Regions from separate parts of the Homo sapiens genome. Here region 1 is linked to region 2. The links are contacts of gene promoters, found by promoter capture Hi-C in human tissues and cell types (Jung and others, 2019). All regions are on one chromosome and are shown on one strand. Each heading gives the region's core, a stretch centred on a gene start or on the middle of the fragment in contact. The rest is flanking DNA. Distances are from core to core; before and after follow the strand shown. Region 1 overlaps RSPH14 (radial spoke head 14 homolog). Region 2 holds the start of ZNF280B (zinc finger protein 280B).

Region 1 (6,232 bases), core at 515-3,014, 610 kb before region 2:
AGTGCCTCTCCTCTCCATGGCGCAGTTCGTATTTACACACGGCCCTTGGCGAACGTCCTTTCAACGCAGTTGCCCATAGGCCCTGGGACAGGAAGGCCCAGATCAGGGTCCCAGCAGGGCCTCCCTCAGGCCACAACGCTGGCTGTGCCTTCACAGGAGTCAGAGCATTTCCAGCCAGTCTCAGGCGCGGGGCATGCTGGGACCAGGGGCACCACCCCTTGCTCCCCTTCCTTCACTCAGCAAAGCCACAAATAATTTACTCTTTAAATACCAAGACACTTAGCTATTGTTCATTTGCTCCCAGGTGAAAGAACCTTCTTTAAATATGTCGTGTTTATTTTCTTAAATAAAAACAAAGCAGAAAACCCCACCATTAACAAGAGGACACTGCAGAGGCTTATGTACAACACGTGTCCCGCGAGGCTGGCGCAGGACTGCCACTCACTCCAAAATTTCTTTGGAGCAGAGAGACAGATCGTCCAGATAACAACTTTTACACTCAGCAAGCCAGACACAAAAAAGACCACCTGAAAAAAAATATGTTTTGAAAATCTGCATTTAAAAAAGAATACTCAACTGCATTTGAAATTTTCTGGATTTTTTTCTGCGAAACACCACGAGATTTGGCCAAAAAAAAAAAAAAACCAAAAAACAAAACAAAAAAAAAATGTCAGAGAAGGAAAACCAGGTTTTGATTTATAAAACATCAGACTAGTAGAAGAAAAGCTGGAATCCCAGCTGGCCTAGTTTGAAATAAATCGTGCCACTCGTTTTGTTGTATTGGTTTTTGCTGCATATTTTGAAGCTGTTTTTTAAAAAGAGCTGTGAGTGGCTGGAGGTCTGGTTAGTGCTGTCACCCGGCTCCTAAGGTCCCAGGTCCAGAATGAAAGTGGTGCTGAGCAGCTGTGTGCAGGCCAGCAGGGAAGGTGCACAGACCCTGCACTGGTCCTCCCTCTTGGTCAGCGGCAAGGTCCCTAGGCCAGAGCTCGGGCAGCGAGCTGGCCCTCCTCCAGGCGACAGGGGTGCAGTTGGCCTACCTTGCCTCAGCCCTGCTGCCTATCCCTAACAATCCAATGCAGACCCCCAAGTGGAGTGGGGCCAACTCAGGAAGGCAAAGTGAAGGGGCAGGTTGGGCTTGTAGTGACCTTGTGACAGCTTCTCAAGTCTTCAAGAGACCTCGACATTTTAGAGGATTTTGCCATCTCCAGATGTGTGTGTGTGCATGTGTGTGTGTCTATCTACCTAGCAATCTATCCGTAAATATTTATGTTTGCAGAAATGTGGGGCCAAGGAGGCAGAGGCCAAGGGGTGGGGGACATTCTTTAGGCCCCCTGTTTTCTGCCCCTGGATTGGGCCTCTCTAGCACGCGTTGGGGCATGACACCCCGTGGGTTTCACCATAGGCAGGCGGGCCCCGGGCCCAGCTCCTCAGCAAAGGCCAATGTACTTGAGATTGTTCTGTATGATGACGTCTGTCACCGCGTCGAAGACAAACTGGATGTTACTGGTGTCGGTGGCGCAGGTGAAGTGGGAGTAGATCTCCTTGGTCTCCTTGTTGCGGTTCAGGTCTTCAAACTGCCGCTGGATGTAGACAGCGGCCTCCTCGTACGTGTTCTGGCCCTTGTACTCGGGAAAGCAGATGGTGAGCGGGATGCGGCGGATCTTCTCTGCCAGCAGGTCCTTCTTGTTCAGGAAGAGGATGAGTGAGGTGTTGATGAACCAGTTGTTGTTGCAGATGGAGTCAAAGAGGCGCAAGCTCTCTGCCATCCGACTCTGGGGAAAGGAAAGTACTGGCGTTAATCAGGCCCGCAGCAGGCAGAGACAGACCCTAGACCTGCAGCCCTGCCAGAGGAAGCCTTTGCTAGGGTCTCAGCCCAAGACTGGTCCCTGCAATGGCACCTCCTTCTGCTGGGGAAGCCCAGGTTAAATGTCTTCACCCACCTCCCACGGAAATAGCCGGCAGCACCCTCCTTGCCAGTGGCAAGTGCTTGGAAGATGTTCTCTTGCCCCTTTTGGGTCTCTCCTCTGGGTGCCAGTGATCTCAACATATAGCTTTGGGGCTACAGATGTGCCAAGCACAGCCTCCTAAACCGCTGGGCACCTCCAGCTCCGAGGACCCCCCATCTTCCCACTGCCCATCCACAGGCTGCCCCACACCTGTACAAGGAAGGCCATCTTCTGCAGGAGCCCCCGTCACATCATAGCTCCCTCAATGCAGGCGCTGGCAGCCTTGTGCCCTATCTGGGTTCTGGCCCAGTCCTTCAAAACTCTGATCCTTCCATGTGGTACCATCGGACACTAGGAAGTCTGTGAGGGAGCAGCCTTCACTTCTGTAACCAAAGTCTCCAGTTCTTGAGAGCTGGGAAGGAAACACCAGCCAGAGGCCAGGCTCCTCCCCTGCCCTCCAGCTGTGGGCACTCCCACCAGCTGCTGTGGGGCATCTGGCACCGCCTCTCTGCCGAGGCAGGACCCTGGCATCCTGGACAGAGCTCTCAGTACATGCAGAGGACAGGAGTGTGGTGGGCCAGGAAGAGGCAGTGACCACAACGGAGTGTGGCGCCTGTCCGCTCCTCAATTCTCTTCTGAGAATCTTCGATGTGTTATAGCCAGGGGTCTGGGCTTTTAAGAAGCATGATGCTCTTGTCTGACTCCCCAGTTCACCACTTCCCTGCAAAATGAATAAATTCTAACTTCTAAAAGGAGTAACTACCTGGAATTTGCTGCTGGCAAAAGCTACCCCTGCTTCTAAGATAAACTCAATGAGCAAAATATCAAAAATCTGGAACCAATCTGGCTTAGATCTGATGCTTTGGATTTAAGAACTTTTCTGGCCAGGCGCCGTGGCTCACACCTGTAATCCCAGCACTTTAGGAGGCTGAGGCAGGTGGATCACAAGGTCAGGAGTTCAAGACCAGCCTGGCCAACACAGTGAAACTTCATCTCTACTAAAAATAAAACAACAACAACAAAATTAGCTGGGCATGGTGGCAGACACCTGTAATCCCAGCTCCTTGGGAGGCTGGGGCAGGAGAATCACTTGAACCCGGGAGGTGGAGGTTGCAGTGAGCCGAGATCATGCCACTGCACTCCAGTCTGGGCGACGCAGCGAGACTCTGTCTCAAAAAAAAAAAAAAAAAAAGGAACTTTTCTGACTAGACTACATCACCAGTGACCGTGGTAATGCAAGTGGTAACTGCAGCTGGTAGTGATGACTCAGGCACGAAGCAACAGCATCACCAATGACTGCAGTGACAATGACGCTGGTAACCACAGCTGGACACGAGCTGCCAGTCTGTTCTCACATCTGCCCACTCCTGTTTTACAGATGAAGAAACTGAGGCACAGAGAGGCAGGATATGTGCTCCAAGCCCCACAACCAGGTGCTCTGGCTTGCTGCTCCTACAGGGTGGGCCCAAAGGAGGCTGCCTGAGGGCAGGGGTGCCCAGGAGGATGCTGCATAGAAACCCTGCTCTCCAGAGCCCCTGAGTTCTCTGAGGAACAGCTCTGGCAGCATCTGTGCAGAGAAAGGAAGGATACCCAGAGGTACCCGTCATTACCCTGGAACCCTGCACTCCACCTGGAAGACTGTTTTTCCAAACCAATCTTGCTCTTTCTTTAGAATGAGCTTCGGAATAACAGGAGTCCTGAGGAGTGAGCAGCCTCAGGTCTGGGGATGGGGGTGCTGGCCTTTCTGCAGAGACAAGCAACACACAAGATCTCATCCCCAGCAGAGCAGAGAGGAGCCAGCGCCTCCGCAGTGAACCTGGCTGCACATTCCCAAATGTGAGATAAGTGGTGGTCTAGGAATGTCACATTCTGCTGAGGGAGTAATTAGCTCTAATGGATTCCTGGAAGCCACATCATAGAGGACTGTGGTAACAGAGCTGTCATTTCTCATAGAAATGATGCTGTAATTGGGGGCTATGCTTCTGACCCCAAATTTTGCATCAGTTAAATAACAGATATGACCATTAGCACGTATTATTAATTTACTGAGCAAACACTTGCTGAGCGCGCCCTGAGTCCACATCAGCTCTCATGCCAGGTGATGGAGCTTGAGGTGGGAGTCCTGGGGCTGCAGGAATAGAGCCAGGCAGGGATGGCAGGGTCCTTTTGGGGTAGGGGGCTTCCTCCGGGGTTGGGAAGGGCGTGATCTGGCCACCAGCAGGGTATGGACCTGGGGGTTCAAGGGTGAGGGGACAAGCACAGAGTGGGTGCTAGGCCTGGGTCTGCCTCTCTGAGCCCTGATGGGTCACTTGGGGATGACAGTTGAGATGGTTTTAATACCCAGCTTAGCCCATCACCTCCTGGGCAGGCAGTGGAATTTAGGTAAGAGGAGGAGCAGGAGGGCCACCTCACTGATGCGGAAACAGTTCACGTGTACTGGTCATCTGAAGCCTCAGATCTAAACCAGACTGGTCCTCTGCAGGGCACCTGTGTGTAGGGAGAGCTCAGCTGGCAGCAGTGGGAGGGGCCGATAGACCACGTGGACCCCCTCTCTCCAAGGCCAAGGCAGCCACTCTTCTTGTCCAACGCCATGAAACACTCCTGACTGTGGCCCCCGTGAGTCCTGGGGTGAGTCAAGCTGTCCCAATGCACTAGGAGCCCCTTCCATGGTGTCTAAACTGCTTCCCTGCTGATGCCTCTCAGTGGACCTTGGGGACCCTGGACACCTCTTTGAGCCTCCTGTTCCTGACTTAGAGGTCATGGAAACTCAGGTACTTATCTCACAAGGCAGCTGGAGGTGGGCACGGTGCCTCACAGTACACTCTTATCAGGATTCCGCCACTGCGGCAGCCTCATCAGGACAGACAAACATCTCCCGAGTGTGGGCCCTTCCCTCAGCTCAGGCCCCTGCTTGTGCCCAGGACTCCCCTTGCTTTGCAGGCATTTCAGGCTCAGGCTTCCTGGTTTCCTCTATTCCTTGAGACAAACCATGGGAACCACACTGACTAATATTTAGTGGGCACCGAGGAGATGATGGGCCTCAAATAATAACAAAATCTCTGTGTAGACGCCTGGTTTCCTGGTCTTGTTTCTTGGCTGGGCCCTGTCTGGCAGGAGTCAGGAAAGCCTGCAGGAGGCACCAACCACATACCTCACTTCCGGGCTCAGACAGGAAGCTTCAGAGCGTGGGAAGCACCTGAGCTTGCCGCCTCACTCCATCCCAGCGTCCCTGACGCAGGCTGAGCCTTCACTGCACATGGGCTCCACCCTAGTAGGAGGTGAAGCTTAGGAGATGGTGGGTGCCCATCCTGTAATCTTTATAGAACAGGAAGGCTATAAAGAAGGTCAGAGGGCCCAGCATGGGACAGTGTGGTGCTGGCAGTGTGGTGCTGATGGACCAGCAAGTGAGGCAGGAGCTGCATCGTGGGTTTGTTCCTAGACCAGAGGCCTGCAGCTCTCAGAGATGGGGGACAAGACAGAGCGGGAGGCTGAAGAACCACAGACGGTTACAAAGTCAGGACCCTGACCAGCTGAAGTTGATGAGAGGAGGCCAAACCTAGAGAAGAGCCTCATATTTGGGTCTGAAAGATCAACTGCAGAGGAGGCAGTGGGGAAAGGTGTTGCCAGGCCAGAAGCCCAGTCTTGTCCTCTGACCTAGTGCCCAGCCTGGGCCCTGGTGCTTGCCTGGTGACCTCGGGAGCCTGTGTCACAGCGGTGCCTGCACTCTTGCAGCCTGGAGTGCAGACAGGTGGGCAAAGCGGCATCCTGACACTCAAATCACCACCACTGAAAACAGAGCCGTCTATTTGAAGCTGTAGCTCTGGAAACTGTGACTCAAGCATGCATATGGGAAGCAAGAAGCCCCAGCATGCCTTCTGCTGGCCTCCAGGGCCTGGCCTCATAGCCCTCTGACCTGTCCATGCTCTGCTCACCCTGCAAAACATGACTGGCTGTGCCTCCTGCACCCATCTGGCCTTTGTGGGCTCCCCTGGGTCCTCCTGCCCTTGGTGGATGTGGCTCTGTTCTCCTTCCTGGCCTGGCCTGGCCTGCATGGGGTTTTGCCCTCCCTGGCCTGGCAGGGTTAAACATTGTCCTGCTGCAGCCCACCTGTGGGCCACTGGGGTAGAGCTGGATGCAGCTTTGGAGTCATGTGGCCCTGCCCCATGGTAGTGCATCACCCCCTTGTCCTGCAGTGACTTCCTCCATCAGCCTGACAGACCCTGGATTCAGAGGAGCTGCCTCTGCCAACCATGACCCCATGGCAAGGGGGAGGGCTCCTCACTTCA
Region 2 (6,327 bases), core at 738-3,237:
AATATCTTCTTTACATCTATGATCTCTTCATTTTGACTATGGTACACTTCACTGAACAGAAATCTTCAAATGCAAGGGTGAGTAATATTTAGGCCATGTGATTTGATTATAATACAATTAAAAAATCTTTTAAAAATCTCATAGATTTCAAAAATAAATAACATATACTATATAACCCTTGTGTTAGAAAGAATCACTATGTAAAAAATAGAGGTTCCTCTTCAAAGACTTTCCTCCCTGTCTAATTACGAATAAATAGTAACTTCTCTTAGAAGTAAAATTTATTCAAAGACCTGTGCTAACATTCTTAGATATCTGCTAGCCGTAATAAAGAAATTAATATACTTTGTGTTCTTAGCTCCCACAATTTAGCCTAAATATTTGCCCTTGCATGCTTATACTGGTCCAAGCAAGCATTAGGTCATAGCCTGTTCCTCTTCCTATTTGGAGGTGTTTTTACCTTTCTCAGCATTCTACAAGTTACATCCTCCTTCCTTTGTTCTCCTCTGCCTTTGCCTCTTTTAGAAAGTTCTAAGTTGTTAGCCAATCGGGACAAACACAGAATGTGAGGTCCTGTTCCAGCCAATGGAAACCGGACACAGCAGTAGGGTGGATGCGTCAGGTTATAAATAACCCTGTATCCTTTGTTTGGGGTACTCTCGTGGCAAAACTGCTGGCGAGTGTACCCTTTCTGCAGAAAGTGAAAATGGCCTTGCTGAGAAAATTAAATTTATGTTCAAGTGCTATTTCTTTGCGGCACCAGGGAACAAGCATTTCTAACAACTAGCAAAATTAGGACATATCTAATTGAAGGATAATGAACATATTACCAAGCGGACTGGTGAGACACAGTTAAACTGGTACTTAAAGGTAAATTTATAGCATTAAATACAAGAGAAACAAAAAAGTTTACAAGCAAACGAGGTAGGCATTTTTCTCCAAAAGTTGTAATGAGAAGTAACAGAACAAGCCTATGAAGTCACGAAGGAAGAAAATAACAGAATGGAAGAAATAGATAAAATAGATAAGAAAATAACATTATAGATTAATTAAACCAAAAGCGATTTACCCGCCCCCCAAAAAGATTGCTAAAATAGACTTTTGGCAGAATTGGTCAATTCAAAAAAAAAATCAAAGCTGCAAGTAAACTGAGTGGGCAAACTTTCTGTAAAGGGCCAGACAGTAAATATTTTAAGCTTTTCATACATGGTCTCTGGCAATTAATCAACTTTGCTGTTGAAGCAGGAAAACAGGCATAAATAATACCGAAAGGAATGGGCATGTTTGTTGTTCCAATAAAACTTTATTTATGGACACTGAATTTTGAATTTCATATAATTTTCACATGCCACAAAATATTCTCTTTTTAGCCATTAAAAAAACGTGAAATCGGTTCTTAGCTTGCTGCCAGCTGTACAAAAACAGGTGGCAGGCTGGATTCAACTGGCCCCAGATGTAACTAGAAGAGGACAGATGTTAGGTTCAGTTGTTTCCTCACAATCCCTTAAGCATGGATAGTCAACAAAGGGACCACACCTGAGAATTATAACAGCTGGCCTTCTGGTGGGCAAACCATCCCCTGATGGACTGGAAGCCTACCCCCCACCCCAAGCCCTGGCTGCGACAGCTCTGGAACCCTGACTGCCTGGGTGCCCCTCAGCTCTGGAACCCTGACTGCCTGGATGCTCCTCAGCTCTGGAACCCTGACTGCTTGGATACCCCCTCAGCTCTGGAACCCTGACTGCCTGGAACCGTGATCCGGAACCCAAGATCCTTTCAAGGCCTCAGGGGTATTGCTGCTGCCCTCCTCCTTCTCAATTTAACCCCGCGTCCAGCCGTCGCCACCAGGGGCGTCAGAGCGCGCGCATGCTCCTAGCTCGGAGCCGCGCCGATCTCGCGCCGGCACCTGGCAGCCAATCGCAGGTCTCCACTGGACGCGCGCGTGTGGAGGCGTGCGCGTCGGCGGCGCCGGGGGCCTGAGGAGGCGTAGTCGCCGCCGGCTGTGCCCCGGGAGCGCCTCCGGGGCTGGTGCGTGGCCGGCAGCTCGCGAACAGCAGCTGATCCGGACTGGTAAGGACGGGGGCGTGGCGCGGCTTCAGCGTTCCCTGAGGGGAGACTTGAGGGATTTCATGGCGAGCCGCAGCCCTGCGGGTCGCGACACCGCGCTTGGCCGTGCGCTGCCGGAGCGGCCTTTGCAATACAGCCGCTTTCTGTGGGGGAGTGCAGGGCAGAAGCAGGTCCCACGATCCCCTCACGCACACCCCCTTCCCTAATCTCAGCGGGCGCCACTTTTACATCAGCCTCCACTCCCTCACGCAGACGCCCCCACCCCCGGGCTGGGCCCGGGCCTCCTGGAGAAGGGGCCTTTCCTGGCTCCCAGTGCGCTCCCCTCCCCCATCGCCCCCGCGGGGTCTCTTTTGGCGCTCAATGTATTTAAAAATCTGAAAACTGCTTTGTAACCCCAGGCCCTCCCCAGTTCTGGAGACCTGTAGGCCCAGACCCCTTAAGGCATTTGAATGTATGGGTCTCTCTCCCCTACCGCAGCGTCTTGTCTCATTTACTGCGTCGCTGTCGGGACTCTTAATGCAGCCCCTGGGACCCTAATGGAGTCCCTCCCGTGAGAGCCAGGACCTCGGGTGATTTGCAGGCTTTTGATTTGGGCAGTTGGCGGGTGGGACGTTTTCCTTTGCTAAGGTAGGGTAGATTGGAGGAACAGATCTGGGGGAAAGGAGTTCAGTTCACTTATCTGGTTAAGTGTGAGATGATTGATAAACACCTAAATGGCAATGTCAGGCAGTGGGATCGAAAATATTCTTGTGACATGTAAGTAACTAATGCTTCTCTCTGGTTACCTCAAGGATGTGACCTTCTGCCTGGAATAGCTCAAGTTCTTAAAAGTTGCGTTGTAATAAACCTGAGGTAAGAAAAGAGAAGTCTCCCTGATGAGGACCAAAGTTGTATTTTCGTCCTTCAGTTTCGCTCCCCTGCCCTTTCCTTTGCTGAAACATAGCTGTTTGGTATTCAATATTTTACTGAGGGAATCTGAATGATGTGTTTGATTAGTTCAGGCCAATTGTTGATGTAGGTCATTCGGGAACCCTCTAAATTGCTTTGTTGAGAAAGGAGAGGGTGGTAGTGGCATTCTTTTACCACATCTCTTGAAAAAAAAAAAAAGAGCATCAGGGATGTTAAGTTATATAAAGCTGACTCCTTTTATCCTACCCTCTTTCTCAGCGACTGTATTTCATGAGGTAACTGCATGCAGCAGGACAGGGGAGGTCATCTGAAGTCATTGCATGCCAGTAGGTGAGATTATAGTGAATTGTGTGCCCAGCAATTTGTGATTACAGCTCAGTGAGACCCATTGTATTAGTTATCTATTGCCGTGTAACAAATTGTCTCAAAACTTAGTAGTTTAAAAAAAAATTTATTACCTCATAGTTTTTGAAGGTCTGGAATCCAAGAGTGGCTTAGCTGGCTGTTTCTGGCTCAAGGTCACTCATGAGGTTTCAGTGAAACCCTTGGCTGGATTGTCAGTCTCTGCGGAATTGACTTGGTTTGGATCATCTGCCTCTAAGCTCACTCACTGGGCTGTTGGCAAGAGGCCTCAGTTCCTTGCTCTGTGGGCCTCTCCATGGGGCTGTTCATGTCACAGCAGCTGGCTTACTTCAGAGCAAATGATTCAAGAGACCTTGTACCCAAGATGAAGGGCAGAGTCTTTATGACCTAATTTCTGAAGTGGCATACCATCACTTCCTGCTGTATGTGCTTGATCCCACAGGCCAACCCTGTTAGTGGGAGAGGGCTACAACTATGTGAATTCCAGGAAGTGGGATTCATTTAGGGCCATCTTGGAGGATGGCCACCGCAACCATTTATCCACCATTTAACCCTTTTCCATAGGATCTCAAAGCATTGTCCTGTTACTCTGGGTGAATAATTTGACTTCTTGCTAAGGCCAGAACCTCTACATGTGCACTTGTTTATTTAAGGATATTATTCTAGCAAGACTTCTCTTTGTCTAGGGTTAAGTTTTCTATCTCTCCAGATCATTAATATAGCAAACATACTGATTGTACCATCACCTCACCTTAAAGATCTCGTTTTTGATGCCACATCTCCCATCTGCTTGTTTTAATTTGTATTTGCTTGTCCTTACAGGAAAATTTCTCCAGAGTTGTCCGTATTTGCTATCTCCTGTTCTCGTTCTTCCTTAAACCCACTGCTGTCAAGGTCACCAATGAATTCCACTTTGCTTAATCCATTGGTCAGTTTTAGTTGATTTTCGTGATTTTATTTGATCTATTGGCAGCATATATTACAGTTCCTTTTCTCCTCCCCATTGGATTCTGGGATGCTTCTCTTTCTCAATTCTCCTCCCACCTGAATGGCTGTGAATAATTGTTTTTTTTTTAATTTCCTTTACCAGCTCCTTCTCATCTCCATGACCTCTAATCAATGGAATGCTCCAGAGCTTAGATCTCAGACCTCTTTTCCCTGAGTGATCTCATCCAGTCTTGTGTTTTAAATAATGCTACATACTGAAGACTTCAAAATTTAAGTACCTACCTCGGAACTTTCCTTGGGCTCTGATCTCATAGATTTACCTGCTCAGCATTACCTCTTGTGTGTCCTCCTCCTCTCCTTCACATCCCAAACCCAATCCATCAATGAACCTTGTGGGCCTTCTAGATTTTTATCTAGAGTCCGACTTCTTAGTATCTCTATTTCTCCATCCTGTCTGATACTACCATCATCTTTTGTTCATAATATTTCAGTAGCTTCTTGTCTTCTGCTTCCACTATTACTCTCTAAAGTCTATTCTCCACACAGTAGCCACAGCAATCCTAATGAAATGAGTGAGATCATATTACTTCTCACTCAGAGCCTTCCAGTAATCTCTCATCACACTCAGGGTAAAATCTGAAGAATTTGTTTTTATTTTTTGTCTATTTATGTACTTATTTTTTGAGATGGAGTTTCGCTCTGTCACCCAGGCTGGAGTGCAATGGCGCAGTCTCGGCTCACTGCAACCTCTGCTTCCTGGGTTCAAGTGATTCTCCTCCTCAGCCTCCCAAGTAGCTGGGATTACAGGTGCCCGCCACCACACCCAGCTAATTTTTGTATTATTATTATTTTATTTTTATTTTTATTTATTTTTTTGAGATGGAGTCTTGCTCTGCCACCCAGGCTGGAGTGCAGTGGCATGATCTCAGCACACCGCAGCCTCTGTCTTCTGGGTTCAAGCAATTCTCCTGCCTCAGCCTCCCGAGTAGCTGGGACTACAGGCACGTGCCAGCACACTTGGCTACGTTTTGTATTTTTAGTAGAGACGGGGTTTCACCATGTTGGCCAGGCCGGTCTCGAACTTCTGACCTCAGGTGATCCACCCGCCTCGGCCTCCCAAAGTGTTGGGATTACAGATGTGAGCCACCACACCTGGCCAAAGCTGAAGAATTTAGAATGGCCTACATGATCTTGGCTTTCCTTTGCCACAAACAGCTCATTTTTTATCTCATTTCTAACTTGTCACTCTTTTCATTGGTCCACCTGTGTTAGCCTATTGATCAGTCCTTGCATGTGTTAAGTGCTCCAGTCTCAGAGGCTTTGTGTTTGCTGTTCCCTTTGTTGGAGTATTCTTCCCCAGATAGCCATATTCATGTTATGTGAGTATCAACCTGCCTCCATTTCCTACTTTATTTTTCTCCCTAGTGTTTATATAACCATGTTACTTTTGTTAAAAAAATTATTTTCTGACTACCCCTTCTGGAATGTCAGCTCCCTGAAGTGAAAGACTTTGGATCACTGCTATATCACCAGACCAATACATGGCACCTTGTTGGCCCACCAAACTTTTATTGAATGAGTGGTCTTCTTAAATTCGTCTCAAATACTACCTTGATGCTTCCCTTTCTCCTTTTCTCTGTAGTAATGAGATTATGAGAACTGTGCAGATTCTTGATCATTCCTGTATAATTTCTCTCTTAGTTTTTTGTGGACTGGGATATGTTTTAATTCTACTGATTGAATACATTTTATAGCTATAGTTCCACTAAAATAGCAAACATCAGAACATCAAATGTGTATGTTTGGCTACACACAGAACCTTATATGATGGTCTTTCTGTAGATTAACAATTTCTCCCTAATTTCTTAACATCCCTCCCACCAGCTCAGTTCTAATGCAGCAATATTACCTTAGGGTCAATTTGATATGTGAAAAGAGAATAGTGACTTTCACCTTTTGGCTTTTAACACCTAGTTAATGTGGGCACAAGTTGTTTGTTTGTTTTTTTTTTTTTTCAGACGGAGTCTTGCTGTGTTGTCC

Evidence for each region. Contacts are between HindIII fragments. The study calls those that stand out against the background at their distance.
Region 1: a contact is called between a fragment that was not itself captured here and the fragment with the promoter of ZNF280B in region 2, in 2 of the 25 tissues and cell types used here (dorsolateral prefrontal cortex and mesenchymal stem cells).

Annotation. Positions count from the first base shown.
Region 1 is chr22:23,118,627-23,124,858 of GRCh38, reverse strand. All of the region lies in intron 4 of RSPH14 (radial spoke head 14 homolog), which reads left to right. It overlaps GNAZ (G protein subunit alpha z), which reads right to left. Exons shown (of 3, transcript NM_002073.4): 3 at 1-1,772. The coding sequence ends at 1,428. Among named protein-coding and RNA genes, the nearest start is that of RSPH14, 20 kb to the left of the region's middle. RefSeq lists an enhancer at 2,346-2,847. The HindIII fragment of the contact is 8,271 bases long and covers 1-5,899 here.
Region 2 is chr22:22,504,402-22,510,728 of GRCh38, reverse strand. ZNF280B (zinc finger protein 280B) reads left to right here and starts at 1,987. Exons shown (of 4, transcript NM_080764.4): 1 at 1,987-2,070; 2 at 2,859-2,919. It also overlaps IGL. The HindIII fragment of the contact is 18,670 bases long and covers 1-6,327 here.